5 separate regions of the Homo sapiens genome follow, and all the other regions are linked to region 1. Evidence: promoter capture Hi-C in 16 types of primary human blood cells and fetal thymus (Javierre and others, 2016). All regions are on one chromosome and are shown on one strand. The core of a region is centred on a gene start or on the middle of the fragment in contact, and the rest is flanking DNA. Distances in the headings are between cores, read along the strand shown. Region 1 holds the start of PAX1 (paired box 1). Region 2 has its middle 110 kb from the start of LINC03083. Region 3 has its middle 46 kb from the start of LINC01427. Region 4 has its middle 24 kb from the start of LINC01427. Region 5 has its middle 13 kb from the start of LINC01427.

Evidence for each region. Contacts are between HindIII fragments. The CHiCAGO score rates a contact against its expected background, and 5 or more counts as called.
Region 2: a contact is called between a fragment that was not itself captured here and the fragment with the promoter of PAX1 in region 1, in 1 of 17 cell types (M2 macrophages). The highest score is 5.4, in M2 macrophages.
Region 3: a contact is called between a fragment that was not itself captured here and the fragment with the promoter of PAX1 in region 1, in 1 of 17 cell types (endothelial precursors). The highest score is 5.7, in endothelial precursors.
Region 4: a contact is called between a fragment that was not itself captured here and the fragment with the promoter of PAX1 in region 1, in 1 of 17 cell types (endothelial precursors). The highest score is 5.1, in endothelial precursors.
Region 5: a contact is called between a fragment that was not itself captured here and the fragment with the promoter of PAX1 in region 1, in 2 of 17 cell types (M2 macrophages and endothelial precursors). The highest score is 6.1, in M2 macrophages.

Annotation. Positions count from the first base shown.
Region 1 is chr20:21,704,276-21,706,975 of GRCh38, forward strand. It overlaps PAX1 (paired box 1), which reads left to right and starts at 1,389. Exons shown (of 5, transcript NM_001257096.2): 1 at 1,389-1,723; 2 at 2,163-2,700. The coding sequence starts at 1,438. The HindIII fragment of the contact is 9,231 bases long and covers 1-2,700 here.
Region 2 is chr20:20,860,368-20,863,067 of GRCh38, forward strand. No RefSeq gene overlaps it. Among named protein-coding and RNA genes, the nearest start is that of LINC03083, 110 kb to the right of the region's middle. The HindIII fragment of the contact is 2,333 bases long and covers 249-2,581 here.
Region 3 is chr20:22,235,930-22,238,629 of GRCh38, forward strand. No RefSeq gene overlaps it. Among named protein-coding and RNA genes, the nearest start is that of LINC01427, 46 kb to the right of the region's middle. The HindIII fragment of the contact is 228 bases long and covers 1,324-1,551 here.
Region 4 is chr20:22,257,706-22,260,405 of GRCh38, forward strand. No RefSeq gene overlaps it. Among named protein-coding and RNA genes, the nearest start is that of LINC01427, 24 kb to the right of the region's middle. The HindIII fragment of the contact is 1,618 bases long and covers 512-2,129 here.
Region 5 is chr20:22,294,886-22,297,585 of GRCh38, forward strand. No RefSeq gene overlaps it. Among named protein-coding and RNA genes, the nearest start is that of LINC01427, 13 kb to the left of the region's middle. The HindIII fragment of the contact is 2,950 bases long and covers 1-2,700 here.

The DNA of each region.
Region 1 (2,700 bases), core at 139-2,638:
CTGGGTGGCTAAGGAGAGCTAGACCCTTGGGGTGGGCAGGAGGGAGGGGAAGAGGGTTCTCTCCTCCAGGGGAGCGCTGGGAGTCTCAGAAACCTCGGCTGTTCCTACTCTCTCCCCTATGCCCTCTTCCTGGTCTAGCACATTCAGCCCAATGCCTTTGGTGCTTACTGGGCTCAACCTCAGAGCTCTCAGATCCTGACCCCCTCAAATCAGTTCATGTTCAAAACCACGAGTTTCCTCCTCTTGGCCCTCACCGCATGGCTCCCGGACACAGTTAGCTGCACAGGTTGGGGAGTTCAGAACTGCTTTGGTGCAGGGTAGAAACAGAGAAATTGTTGATGTTCAATCTCAGGGGTGAATAATTCAGGGCTGCGCAAAACCTCATTTAAATGAAGGAGAAATGACCATTCTGTGGTTTAACAGAGACTTCCTGAAGCTGCAGGTGCTGGGAGAAAGACGAGGCCAGGCCACCTGGGATAGAGTGGTGCGAGATTCCACCGCCAGGGAGAAAGGAACTTGTCCTTCAGACCTAGAGCTGGAGCTATGCATTTGGCCTCCCGCCGGTCGCGCTTGGGGACAGGAGGGCGCCGGATCTATGCGCCCCTTAGCAGCAGATCGGGATCCTTTTGCCTCCTGCCCCTTCTGTCACTGCTTGGAGAGGGATGAGTTCTGGTGGCTGGGCCTGGCTGTAGGAGACAGGATTTGGACCGTGCCCCTCTCGCATCACCGAAATCACCCCCACTATTCCAAGAGTGGTTGGCTATTAAACGTGAAGATTTCCTGAGAGAAGGATTGAGGACCTGGCCAGGAATGGGACACAAGTTCCGCCTTGTGTCTTCCTGACAGGAGCCCTGCACCGCGCTGGACGCTCACCTTGACACTCCCAGCCAGCTGGGGTACTGATCCCACCCTTCCCCGGCCGCTGCCCCGGGAGTGGGGAGGTAGAGAGAGCCACACCCGAAACACCTTTCCACGATAAACTTTTATTCTCTATCTTATTATTAATGGTGGCGGAAATAAAACTAAAACCAAAACGAAAACGAGTACTAGTACTAACACACTAATCAATTTGAGATGACTTCCCCCTCATTCCCAAAGCTAGAGGAGGAAGGGGGCTGAAAGGGGCTCAGAGCAGTGGAAGGTCCCAGGCCCAGCTGGGGTTGGGACGTGTGTGTGTGTGTGTGTGTGTGTGTGTGTGTGTGTGTGTGTGTAGAGGGGTGGGTTCCGGGGGGGTGGTGGAAGAGGGCCGAGGGGGGAGGATAGAAGGAGGGGGTAGAGTTTCAGGGCGGGGAGGGGGGCGCTGGGGCGCAGTGACGGGAACCAATGAGCTGCCAACTCGCGCGTCTCCGGCGTGACTGCCGAGATTGACGTGGAGGACACGTCAAATTGATTCCCGCACGCTGCAGCCTCCCGGTCAGACGAATTTCTCCCAATCGGATGAAGTTCACCCTGGGCCTGGGGTCGCGGGCGTGGAGAGTGTCCTGGGAGGGGGCAGCAGCGGCGGCGGCAGGCCCTGGAGCGGGCGGCAGCGCGCTCCGCTGCCGCGCACAGCGCGTCTCCAGCCCGCGGCTGGGCCGCCGCGGCTCTCGGCTCTCGGGCGCCCTCCCTCTATGCCTCTCACGCGGCGGCGGCGGCGCCCAAGCTCTCCCGGACTGCGCCGGGCCCAGCCCCGGCCACCCCGGCCACCCCGGCGCCAGGCAGCTGGCCGGCCCGCTCGCTATGGGTAAGGGGCGGGCGACAGGCAGGGCTCGGGAGGGCTGATGAGGTGGGTCGGGTCCGCCTGCCTCCCTTCCCTCTCGTCCGCTTTCCCTGGGCGACCCAGTCCTGGGTCCTGGAGAAGCTGCATTCTCCTCTGATCCCCAGCCTTCAGGGGGCAGTTGAGCAAGTCTGGGAAGGGAGTGTTCCAAGTAGACGCGCTAAAAGTCGCGAAAGGGCACGGAGGGCTACAATGCGCCGCGCTCCACTCCGCGGCTCCTCTGCGCCCTTGCCCACTCCAAGCCAGACCCAGGCGGTTTGCCCTTGGACTCCGAGCTGTCTGGGGACCCACAGGTCACCTTTGGAAGTGCGCCTGGGTGCAGTCCCTCGCTCCGCGTGGGGACCCTTGGCTAACCCGCCGGGTGTTTTCTCCCCCTCCGGCTCACTCTTGTCTGGCGCATCCGCAGAGCAGACGTATGGCGAGGTGAACCAGCTGGGCGGTGTGTTCGTCAACGGCCGCCCCCTGCCCAACGCCATCCGCTTGCGCATTGTGGAGCTGGCGCAGCTGGGCATCCGACCCTGTGACATCAGTCGGCAGCTCCGCGTATCCCACGGCTGCGTGAGCAAGATCCTGGCGCGCTACAACGAGACCGGCTCCATTCTGCCCGGGGCCATCGGGGGGAGCAAGCCCCGCGTCACCACTCCCAACGTGGTCAAGCACATCCGGGACTACAAGCAAGGAGACCCTGGCATCTTTGCCTGGGAGATCCGCGACCGGCTGCTGGCCGACGGCGTCTGTGACAAGTACAATGTGCCTTCGGTGAGCTCCATCAGCCGCATCCTGCGCAACAAGATCGGCAGCCTGGCGCAGCCCGGACCGTACGAGGCAAGTAAGCAGCCGCCGTCGCAGCCTACGCTGCCCTACAACCACATCTACCAGTACCCCTACCCCAGTCCCGTGTCGCCCACGGGCGCCAAGATGGGCAGCCACCCCGGGGTCCCGGG
Region 2 (2,700 bases), core at 165-2,664, 840 kb before region 1:
ACTAAGCCAGCAGGGGGCGCACAAGCACAGCAATGCTTGCAATACTGCCATTGGCCATGATTCTCTCCTGCCTCTGCAAGATAGAAATTAGGAAGGGAATGACTGTGGCGTTAGGCTGTACATGGACTTAAAGAGGCATGTAGAATCCTAAAAAGCAACATGAATTCTTTTCACTGTTGGAATGGAAGGCAATTTATACAGCATTTCTTAATTGCATTACATAGCATCTCTTAATTGAAATCAACTAAAGCTTCCTTAACTATTATTTTTAAAATTTAGTAGGGCAATTAAAAAAAAGAAAGTTATTATAGCTCTCAGCCATAACAACTCAAATAGCACATATTTGGGAGAAATGATAAAGAAAAAACTGGAAATACTGGATTCCTTTCTCAAAGCTCAAAAAGACAATGAAAGGGATGAAGGCAGAAATGACACTTAAGCAATAAACACATTCAAGTAAACATCAGTTTCTGAACACACTCCATTTCCATTGGCATCTGAGCATAGATCTTAATTCAAGAGGTTTAACCTGCTTCAGAGAAAATGAATAAAAGAGAATGTAGCACAATGCTTGAAGATCTTCACATTTATAGACTGGTGAACTCTCTCACCCACACACTGTAATTTGGGTGGCGTTCCTTCAAAACTATTAAGGCATCTTCATTGGAGCTGGGGTAATTCTAAGCAACACTAATGGTGTGCTCGATGTTACTGTAAGTGAGATAAATGATAGCAAACTTGTATGAGCAGGTGCATCTAATAACAGAGGCGTAGAAGCATAATACAGCAAGAAAGAAATGTTCAAATGCAGAAAATAAGAGCTCACGGAATCACTATGAGTGTGTTAGTGTGCATTACGGAGTGAACGATGTGTGTGTCTGACCACTTTGTCCACATCTCTATCTCTGGTGCACCCAACTTCTTTGAAAAATCAGAGTCAAAACCAGTGAGAGGAAGCCCTCATGTGTTTTCGGTCTCCACTTCCAGAAAACCTCAAGACATTTTTATTGGAGGAATAAAGAAAAAGCCCTTGAATTACAGAGTACTCAATGGGTCTAGGAGAATGAGTCTCTAATACTCACTCACATTCAAGGGAAATGACACATTTATCCATTTCAGGCTCAACTCTTTTAGACTGAAGAAAATCTAAAACAAATAGATATGGCTTACAGCATTGCCCATCTAATTAGTTTTCTTCCTGCACCAAAGGTGGTTGATGTTATGTGTTTTCTCCATATCCCGTGAAAGAAAGCTCTGGAGAACTTAGCTCACTTCCTCTAGAGAGAGTTCTTGAAGAGGAGGGAAGAGATGGAGCTGGCAAAATTTGGGCAAATATTCTTAGTCTTTGGCATAGAAATATATTGAGGAGTGAAAAGAAGCACTAAAAAAAAAAGACACCATCTTTTGGCCTCTAGTCCTAAGAATTTTAAGATTGTACTTTTTTTTTTTTTTAGATGAAGTCTCTCTCTATAGCCCAGGCTGGAGTACAGTGGTGCGATCTCCACTCACTGCAAACTCTGCCTCCCAGATTGAAGTGATTCTCCTGCCTCAGCCTCCTGAGCAGCTGGGATTACAGGTGTGCACCACCACGCCAGGCTAATTTTTGCATTTTTAGTAGAGAGAGGGTTTTGCCATGTTGGCCAGACTGGTCTCAAACTCCTGGCTTGAAGTGGTCCATCCGCCTTGTCCTCCTGAAGTGCTGGGATTACAGGTGTGAGCCACCATGCCTGGCCAGATTGTACCTTTAAATGACTCAATAGAAATGAGTTTCAGTAAGACATCATTCTGTGTGGGAAGCCACTTGCCTAGTTCTCTCAGAACTCCAGAACCCTGGCTGTAATAACTGGGCAAGTTTCATTCAACCGTGGTGGCCACACACAGTCCCTTTGTGTAAGGTTTGTGAATTTGAAATCTTTAGAAGATAACAAAAGAACTTGTAAATGATTGGACCCACACCCAGAGAGAGAGAGACCTGTATACATTCTTCCATGCAGAAAATAAACTGGAAATCTAACGCACAAAAATATTTTTGAAACCACATTATCGAGGTATGATTGACTTGTATAAAGCTGTGTGTAATTAATGTGTACAACTTGATGAGTTTGGGGAGAAGCAGACACCAGTGAAATCATCACTACCATCAAGGCCATAGACATCCATCCCTTCCCAAAGTTTCTTCCCATCTCCTCTATTATAATAATTATTAGTGTGTGTGGTAAGAACACTTTAAAAGATTTGACATAGACTATTAGTTCCTCCTCAGAAAGGAGTTGATGGGATTTCAGAGGTGGCGTGGCTTGGAGTTGCTCTTCTCTTGATGTCCCCTGAGGGCCTGCACTGATCTTGGTCCTCCTGCCAGTGCTCCCAGCCCCTTATGGACAACTGGCTTTCTGCACCGTTTGAAATGCTAGGCATGGCTGTCCCACACGGTGCTTGCTTTCTCGTGCCTTCTAACCTGGGCACTGAGCTTTCATCTGTGTTCACTGGCTGGCTCCGTAGCATTTCCTGCCACACCTCCATGGAGGTATGGGCATTTTGCATTCCATAAAGGGGAAAAGAGCTTCTTCCTGATCAGAGTTTAAGCTTAAAATGGTTTTCTTCCTCCTGAAACCACAACGTTTCCTAACAACATTAAAATTCCCCTCTGCTCAGCCCCCTACTGGACCAGCTCTGGGCTGGAGTGAGGAAGGCATCCCTGTT
Region 3 (2,700 bases), core at 188-2,687, 530 kb after region 1:
ACGACTCCTCAGCCTGAGTAACAGACATGATTTGGATTCTGTTTGCTAATTGATTTAGTTACATCCATTATGAAAATGGAGAGCTCTCAGCAAGAAGCTCACCTGGAACTACAGTAAACAGCACTGCTTGCTCTGGGCCCTCCTTTCTGCTCGGAGCGGGACTTGCCTGTAATTACCTCCAATGTGGAAAGAAAAAGAACTTTCACATCCTGACTCTAAAATTCTCTCTTCGCCCCGTGTGTCAGTACATAAACTTTAATTCAGACATTGGCAGTACTGTCAGCAGCTCATATGTCATCAGCGGAGGGCTCGGAGGCTCCGCGTGCCAGGGAGCAGGCGGCTTCTATTGCCTTCCTGGAGGTCGGGATCCCCCTGGTTTGCTGAAACCTCAAAGGCAAGTCTTTCTCGAGGGCGAGAACAGAACCTGAAAGACAGGACTTTGCCTCTGGTCTCTGTTCAGTGGCTGAGCAGTCTAGCCCAGGTGTCCCACTCCTAGTGGGACGCAGATGTCTCTTTGCACACCTGGGAAAGTGTGTAACCAAGACCACGTGAGGCCCGGGGCTGGATCTCTCAGGGACCCTGCTGACAGCCCACGAGCCCAGGGGGTCGACTTGGGAGAAACCACAGAATATTACCCTTGCTCTGCATGGATACAGGAGCTAACAACAAATAGAAGTGCAGATAGGAAAACTCCCTTCCCATCCTCCTTGGGCAGTAGCCTCTCCTAGCCTACCTCTCCCCATAAGCTATCTGCTGGTGTCTCCTGGGTTGCCTGAGGTAGCATTTAGAGGGGTTGGCAAATGCCACCATGAAGAGCACAAGCCCGTTCTCCATAGGAGCTGGCCTCTTAGGCCTGTTTTCTCCTATCTCTCGCTTTCGCTTTTTGAAATGTGATTCTCCCTGGTAGGGAAAGGCAAGAAAAACATCCAATGCTCATAAAAGTTAAAGTTCAGCACAAGCTGTTAATGAATTGAATTTGCTTCACACATACATTTATAAACTCAAAACAGACCTGGCATGTCCTTACTTAACTTGTCAATGGGCAATGGGATGGGAAGCCTGAACTCCAGATGGACATGCGTAGGCCATACAGGAGCTGAAGAAAGCATCCAACAAAACCATCTGAAAAGGTTTTTCAACATAAGATGGTATATAGCTAGTGGAAAATGATGCTGAATAAAAAAACAGAATTATTTTTAAGGTTTTGAAAAGTCTCTTAGATATGAAACAGCCTTGGTTTGGTGCTATATAGTTTATGAGCCTGAAAATGAAATTACAGGACATAAAATATAAAAAAAACTAATCAATATCACATAACCAGGAAGCTTGGAAATTTAAAGGACTTCTCTTGTGCTGACATTTGAGGCCACAAATACCAGAATACGGCATATGCAGAGGAAGTCGGTGTTCATATTATGCTCAGGTTACCTTGGCCAATGGGAGCATTTCTTCCATCAGCTCAATTGTGAGGCCTGGCATCCAAGACAAGTATTGATTTCTGCTCCTTTCCCTGCTCCTCCTCCTTCCCCTTCCTCTTTTTAATAGCAGGTAAGCTTACTGTTAAATGATCAATTCCTTCATCATGTGAAACTTGTGGATGCTTCCTAGTCTTAAACATGAACAGTAAATTATTAAGAGACATTATGTTCTCTGAAGACACCGACAGAAAAAAATTCTCCGTTTCCTTCATTACAGGAGATAGCTTGAACCTCTACCTATCTGTCCCTCTCCACACTCCTAGGTCTCAGGATAGCTTTTGTAGGTTGGGACTTTGGTGAAAAGGCTTGGCAGCAAATTTCAACTATCACAGTATGACCTTAGACACGTCGCTCCCTAAACCTCAGTTTTCTCAACTAAAAGTGGAGGTAGTTCTCTACTCAAATATTAAACCCTTAGAGACACCTAGCCTAGCCACTCCATCAGTAATAGCCTATCTCCCCTCTTTAAAAAAAAAAATTCTTTATCTCTTTTATGCTTACCATTGACTTCTTTCTTTCTTTTCTTTCTTTCCTTCTTTCTTTCTTTCTTCCTTTCTTTATTCTTTCTTCTGTCGCTCTTTCCCTTCCTTCCTTCCCTCCCTCTGTCCTTTCTTCCGTCCGTCCTTCCTTTCTTTTTTTCTTTCTTTCTTTCTTTCTTTCTTTCTTTCTTTCTTTCTTTCTTTCTTTCTTTCTTTCTCTCTCTCTCTCTTTCTCTCTCTCTCTCTCTTTCTTTCTTTCTCTCTCTTTCTCACTTTCTTTCTTTTTGAGATGGAGTTTCACTCTTGTTGCCCAGGCTGGAGTGCAATGGCATGATCTCTCAGCTCACTGCTACCTCTGCCTCCCAGGTTCAAGCAATTCTCCTGCCTCAGCATCTCAAGTAGCTGGGATTACAGCCATGCACCAGCACGGCCGGCTAATTTTTCACTTTTAGTAGAGACGGGGTTTCACCATATTGGTCAGGCTGGTCTCAAACTCCTGACCTCAGGTGATCCGCCTGCCTCAGCCTCCCAAAGTGCTGGGATTACAGGCATGAGCCAACGTGCCCAGCCATTATACTGTATTTTTGTTTGTTGATTTGTTAACAATAGAAGTTAAACCCTGTGAGTGTTGTGTTCTCACTCTTGGAACAAGGCCTGGCCCCAAATAGTCCTTAGTAAGAGCCAGCTTAATGAATGAATAGTAACTCAATCAATAACCATGTTTTGATGAAAGGAGGCCAGGA
Region 4 (2,700 bases), core at 71-2,570, 550 kb after region 1:
AAGAGCTCCCATATCCTGGTAACCAAATCTCTCCTTCCTTTTATTTCCAAAATTCCCCCAATGGGTTTTCTATTATTTGTAGTCAAGAGAATCCTGACCACAAATCACAATACTAAATATTTTTGAAATCCAAAAAGATATAAGGAGAGTGTGAGTTTAATAATTATTAACAGCTGGTCTGAGGCTTGAGACTGTGAAAGTAATAAAGTCATGAGAGGATTTCCCTTGAAGTACGTCAGTGCGAGTGGCTCACATTGTCATTCATGCTTTGTCGTCACCCTGTGAGGATGTGTATCATTAGAAGGATGAGGCTACCACGAAAACATTTTTTGAATAAACCATCTGAAATCGCCTTCAGCTTCAACAATGACTTTTCTCCATAATATAAGAAAGGTGATTGTGCAACACTTATCGCAGCTCTCACAGCATTCCTAGGATATGGGGATGTTTTCTCCTATTTTGCAGATAAATAAATACATAAATAAATAAATAAATAAATAAATAAATAAAAAGCTTGACTTGGAGAACTAATTTGCTTCAAATCACACAGCTAGTCAGGGACAAAGAAAAGCCTTGGACTCAATTCTTCTGGGTTTTAAGCAAAGCATTTTTTCTGTGATACCTTGCCCTTGTTCCTGTCTGTTTGCTAGGCAAGGATATTGGTTTCATTGCATTTAAAGGTTTTGAAAGTGCTTAATGAGTTATTTTATCATTTTGGAAAGGAAGTGTTAAGAAAGACATTATTTAACTTACTTTTATTCATATTTTTATATTGTGTAAAAATTGCCAGAAGACATAGAAGCAGAACATTTTGCCTTAATAGTGTCTTAAAGATCCCTAGCTGGTAGCCCCCAAAAGAAGTCTGCATTGAGACATGGTTTTACTGAACATCTGGAAATGTGCACATTCAAATACAGGAATAAGAACTTCATTTTGTAACAAAAACAATAATTATATAACACTTCTTAATATTAGCTATCACTTCCTAATATTTTCACTGTCACACTGAGCTAAATTTTAATATGAATTATCTCACTCAATCCTTAAACCAATCTGTATAAGGCAGGCAACATAACTTTTCCAAAGTTGTACAGGGAACAAGAAACAAAACTAGGACCCAAATCAAGGATTCTCTGATGATCTCCATGCTTGTAATGTTCTCTTTCTTTTTCCCCCACCAATATGTGGACCACGGTCTTCTTAACAAAATAGCTGCAATATGTGGTATTAATCATTATGTACACACACAGACACATACACAAATACAAAGGAGATTTGCTATTAACTTAGATTGTACAATTAAAAACCAAAAGCCAGTCATTACTGTATGACTTAAACCAGAACCTGTGTTCTATTCCAATATCAGGTAAATATGTTATTACCGAACTAACAATGTAAGAAAAAAATATAGCTTCAATGATGAAGCAATACCACATGTTAGAAATATATCAACTTACCAAAGTGAATGCTTGAAATTGATGCAAAAGCAGAGGTCAAGTGCTAACAGTTATACTTCTTGACCTGTGCAGTGTTTTCCTTTCAAGATGTGTGGCACCCAAAGCAATGGAATGACTCAAAAATATTGTAAGTTTCTGGGAGCCACATCTGTGCAAAAATGGGACCAATTCAGTCATACAACTGGATAATATGTTGAGCAAATCCAGTGAAACCCCGTTATGTCACCATGTATAGCATCCCAAAATACAGGCCATTCCTGACTCTCAAGTTTGAATGTTGCGAGTTTGCAGACAAAGACAAAGATAACGTCTCTGGGAACATGTTCTGAACACTGCCCAGGGCCTGTAGAGCAGACAATCTCATTAAGTGAGGCTGCTCATGGTTTGAAGATGAGCATTGGTCTTGCTGCCCTCTAAATGAAGACATAGGACCCTCAGTTGCATCCTTATAAGTGGGCCAGGTACAGTGAGAGGGAGACATGGCTTACGGAATTACAGACATATTACAGAAGAAATAGAAAACTTTATAAGCATGAGGCTGTCATAGAACCTTGGATTTTGGTAACAGAGGCAGAGAGCTTCATTTTTGAAAAAAGTCTCTGAGGCAGTCATCATGAAAAAGCAGCCCTTTGAGTACAAAGATAAATGTTCACTTGGGAGATGTCACCTTCAAGCTTTATTTCTGATACTAGTACAGGGAGTGATCCTGTCACAAAATAGAGCTGCCCCTTGTAGTGCCCGAGGTCTGAATGGCCTTGAAACTGGCCTGCCTTGCAAGAGCAATTGGCCAACTCTCAAGGGAGGCAAACATCTGTACATATTTTTTGATGATCATGTATCTCACTAATAAAAAAATTACTAATCAAAGAGGAAGGTGTTTGCAGACTACTTATATGAAAAAAGACCTGAAGTATATCAATGTTATTATCATGATTAACCTAATAGAGAACTCGTCTCTTACCTAAAAAATGTACTCTATTTCTCACAAAATTCTTAAATTGGTGATGTACATGAGTGCTTCTACAGGGTATTAGATTTAGCTGTTTCAGCTGTTGAGTTGGTTGACATTTGTATTGCTTACTGTTGTCTTGGTCTCTCTGTTTATGTGCAGACAGTCTAACAGTAAAACAAACAAACAGACAAAACCAAAACCAAAATTTCAAGAGTGGAAAGGAGTTTTTCCCCAGATTGACATTCAAATTCATCTGACCACGAGTTTTGGGAGGCATGACATATGATGCAG
Region 5 (2,700 bases), core at 181-2,680, 590 kb after region 1:
TCCTTCATTCACTAAAAATGAATTTCAATTAACCTAAATTTAAATGGCCACAGGTGACTAGTGGCTATCCTATTGGAGAATGCTTCTTGAAAGTATGATTTTAGGGATTAAAGGGAATTCATCTTTGTATCTAAAGTGTCCGGCACAGAACAGTCCTCCATCCATCTTGGTTCCCCAGCCCTGAAGTGAGATCCTGGTGACATAAGCCAGGTCTCTATATCCAATGCTCATTTAAGATTGCCTCTTCAACAGGAGCGTGTTTGGCTCTAGTGTAGCTTGCCACCAGCAGTCCCCATTGGTAGTGATGGCATTCTTGGCATCCTTCCAGTGCCATGATTGACTTAGCCAGTAAAAGACAAAATTCAGATGGTAGCCACTAAACAGTATGAAATATCTCAGTTTTAACCTAAAGTGGAAGCAATAACAGTCTCCAAGGCTGCAGAAGCAGGGCTTAGCAGACGAACCAAAAGACAAGAAGAAAAGTCCTGTTAAAAGAATAACAATCAATAGCTGAAAGCTATTAAGTTCACTCTTCTAGTTCAAAGGGATTTGAAATGGCAATTTGTCAGGCAACTGTTGTCACTTTAGATGCCCCCATTGCTTTCTTTGAAGCCCTTGATTGACTACAGGAGGTTACACCAGATTGTTCTAAGGACAGGATTTCCACAGTTGAGCATACTTATATCCAAGTAATTATGACTCTTCTGAATTTAATCAACACAAGGCAAAAGAGAGCTAGTTTGAGAAAATATGCATGTGCTCTGCAAAGTCCAGGCGATGGCTTCGGTGGCTATGCCCAAAGCCAGACAACCAGCTGGATGGTTTCAGTCACTTAATTGTGCCGATCAGATTCTCCAGCAAGTTTCCCTGCTGGCCAGGGAAAGAGGGAGAATCATAGAGTGAGGACTTTCTCCATTCTGCTTGTTCTGTTCAACAATGAAACAGACTTCCGCTTGAGATGGGTTGTTTCTAGGAAAGAACAGCCAATGAGAAATAAGCAACCTAACACATTCACACAGTGTTGCCTCTTCAGCTAGCAGAGGTGGAGCTGGGAGGACATTTTCGCCAATTGTTTTGGAAAACAGATGCAGAGGCAAGTGTACCCCTGTGAAGCAATGGCTGAATGTCTTTAGGGGAGATGGGTGCAAAGGGGAATTAGCAAGTGAGAAAGAGGACTGAGAACTGTGGCAGCTACTGGGCCTTAAGTCAGACTTTCTTCTAGAAATGTGCAGAATGGACACAGAATGTGAGAAGCCCTCTGAAGCATGTTTGCCTTAGGAACAACTAATTGCAAGTTAATTTGCTACTTTTTTGTGGAGTTTTCAGGAACCTGTTCAGCAAGAATGGGAAGTGTGTTCCTGGGTGTTTGCAGAGTGGGGCATGCATGGTGACATCAGCCAGAGCTGTGGCCCCGTCCTAGGCATCCAAGAGGAAGGTCAAAACAGAAGGTGTAAAGGGATAGAAGCTGTTGTCAGAGTCCAACCTCTTCCTAAACTTCTAAGCCCTCTATGACTCAGGAAAGAATGTGTCCTAGAGAGAAGGGGGCAGAGTGACACAGATGGTAAAGATGGGAGCTAACGGGCTCTCAGGAGAGAAAAAGCAAGGTGGACTCCTGCCCAGCAGATATGTGCCAGATGTCCCTGCTATGCAGCCTTGGGGACACATCCATGCCAAATAACTAAAGAGAAGCTATGACAGGAAAAACAAAAACACACAACATGCTATCTACATACAACATGTGGGGCTGGGGCCAGGAGTGAGGTCAGGAAGAGCACCCCACCAAGGCAGGATGAACAGATGGAAGGAAGGTCAAGCCAGGAGAGATCTGAAAAGAAAGGATGGGAGGAATCCACTTCTATTTTTTTTTTCTTTTGAGACAGAGTATCGCTCTGTCGCTCAGGCTCGAGTGCAGTGGAGTGATCTCTGCTCACTGCAAGCTCTACCTCCCGGGTTCATGCCATTCTCGTGCTTCAGCCTCCCGAGTAGCTGGGACTACAGGGGCCCGCCACCACGCTTGGCTAATTTTTTTTTTTTTTTTTGTATTTTTAGTAGAGACGGGGTTTCACCGTGTTAGCCAGGATGGTCTGGATCTCCTGACCTTGTGATCCGCCCGCCTCGGCCTCCTAAAGTGCTGGGATTACAGACGTGAGCCGCCCCGCCCGGCGGAATCCACTTCTAGCTGTTTGGCAGGGACTGTCCCGGGCACAGGACGCCAGGAGACAACGTGTGTGGGCAAAAGTACATACACTCACAGTAGGGGTCCAAGGCCAAAACCCACCAGGGCATTTGCTGTTCAGTCTGTGATGTGTGATTGTTGACCACACAGCAGGGAGCATGTTCTGACAGCGCCACCCCACCCAGGCCATGTGAGCAATGTTAGCCCTGCATTTATGCTGATGGATCTTTCTTATGGGACTCAAACGGCATTCATTCTCTCTGAACAAATTAAGAAGAAACTAATCCCAACCTAAGATTCTTTATAAATTACTCAGACAAAAGAAAATGAATCACTATATGCATAAGCAGCAGATGTTATGTGACCTCAAAATTAATGCCTATTAGCAGGCCAAAAAGGTATGCAGAAGAAGAGAGGTAAGATTTCCATGCTGACAGGTTTGTTGGTCTAAATTCATTCTGGAAAAATTGTGTCTTTCAAGTAAGAAAGCACGGTAGGCAACATCTTTCCTAGAGTCTTCATCA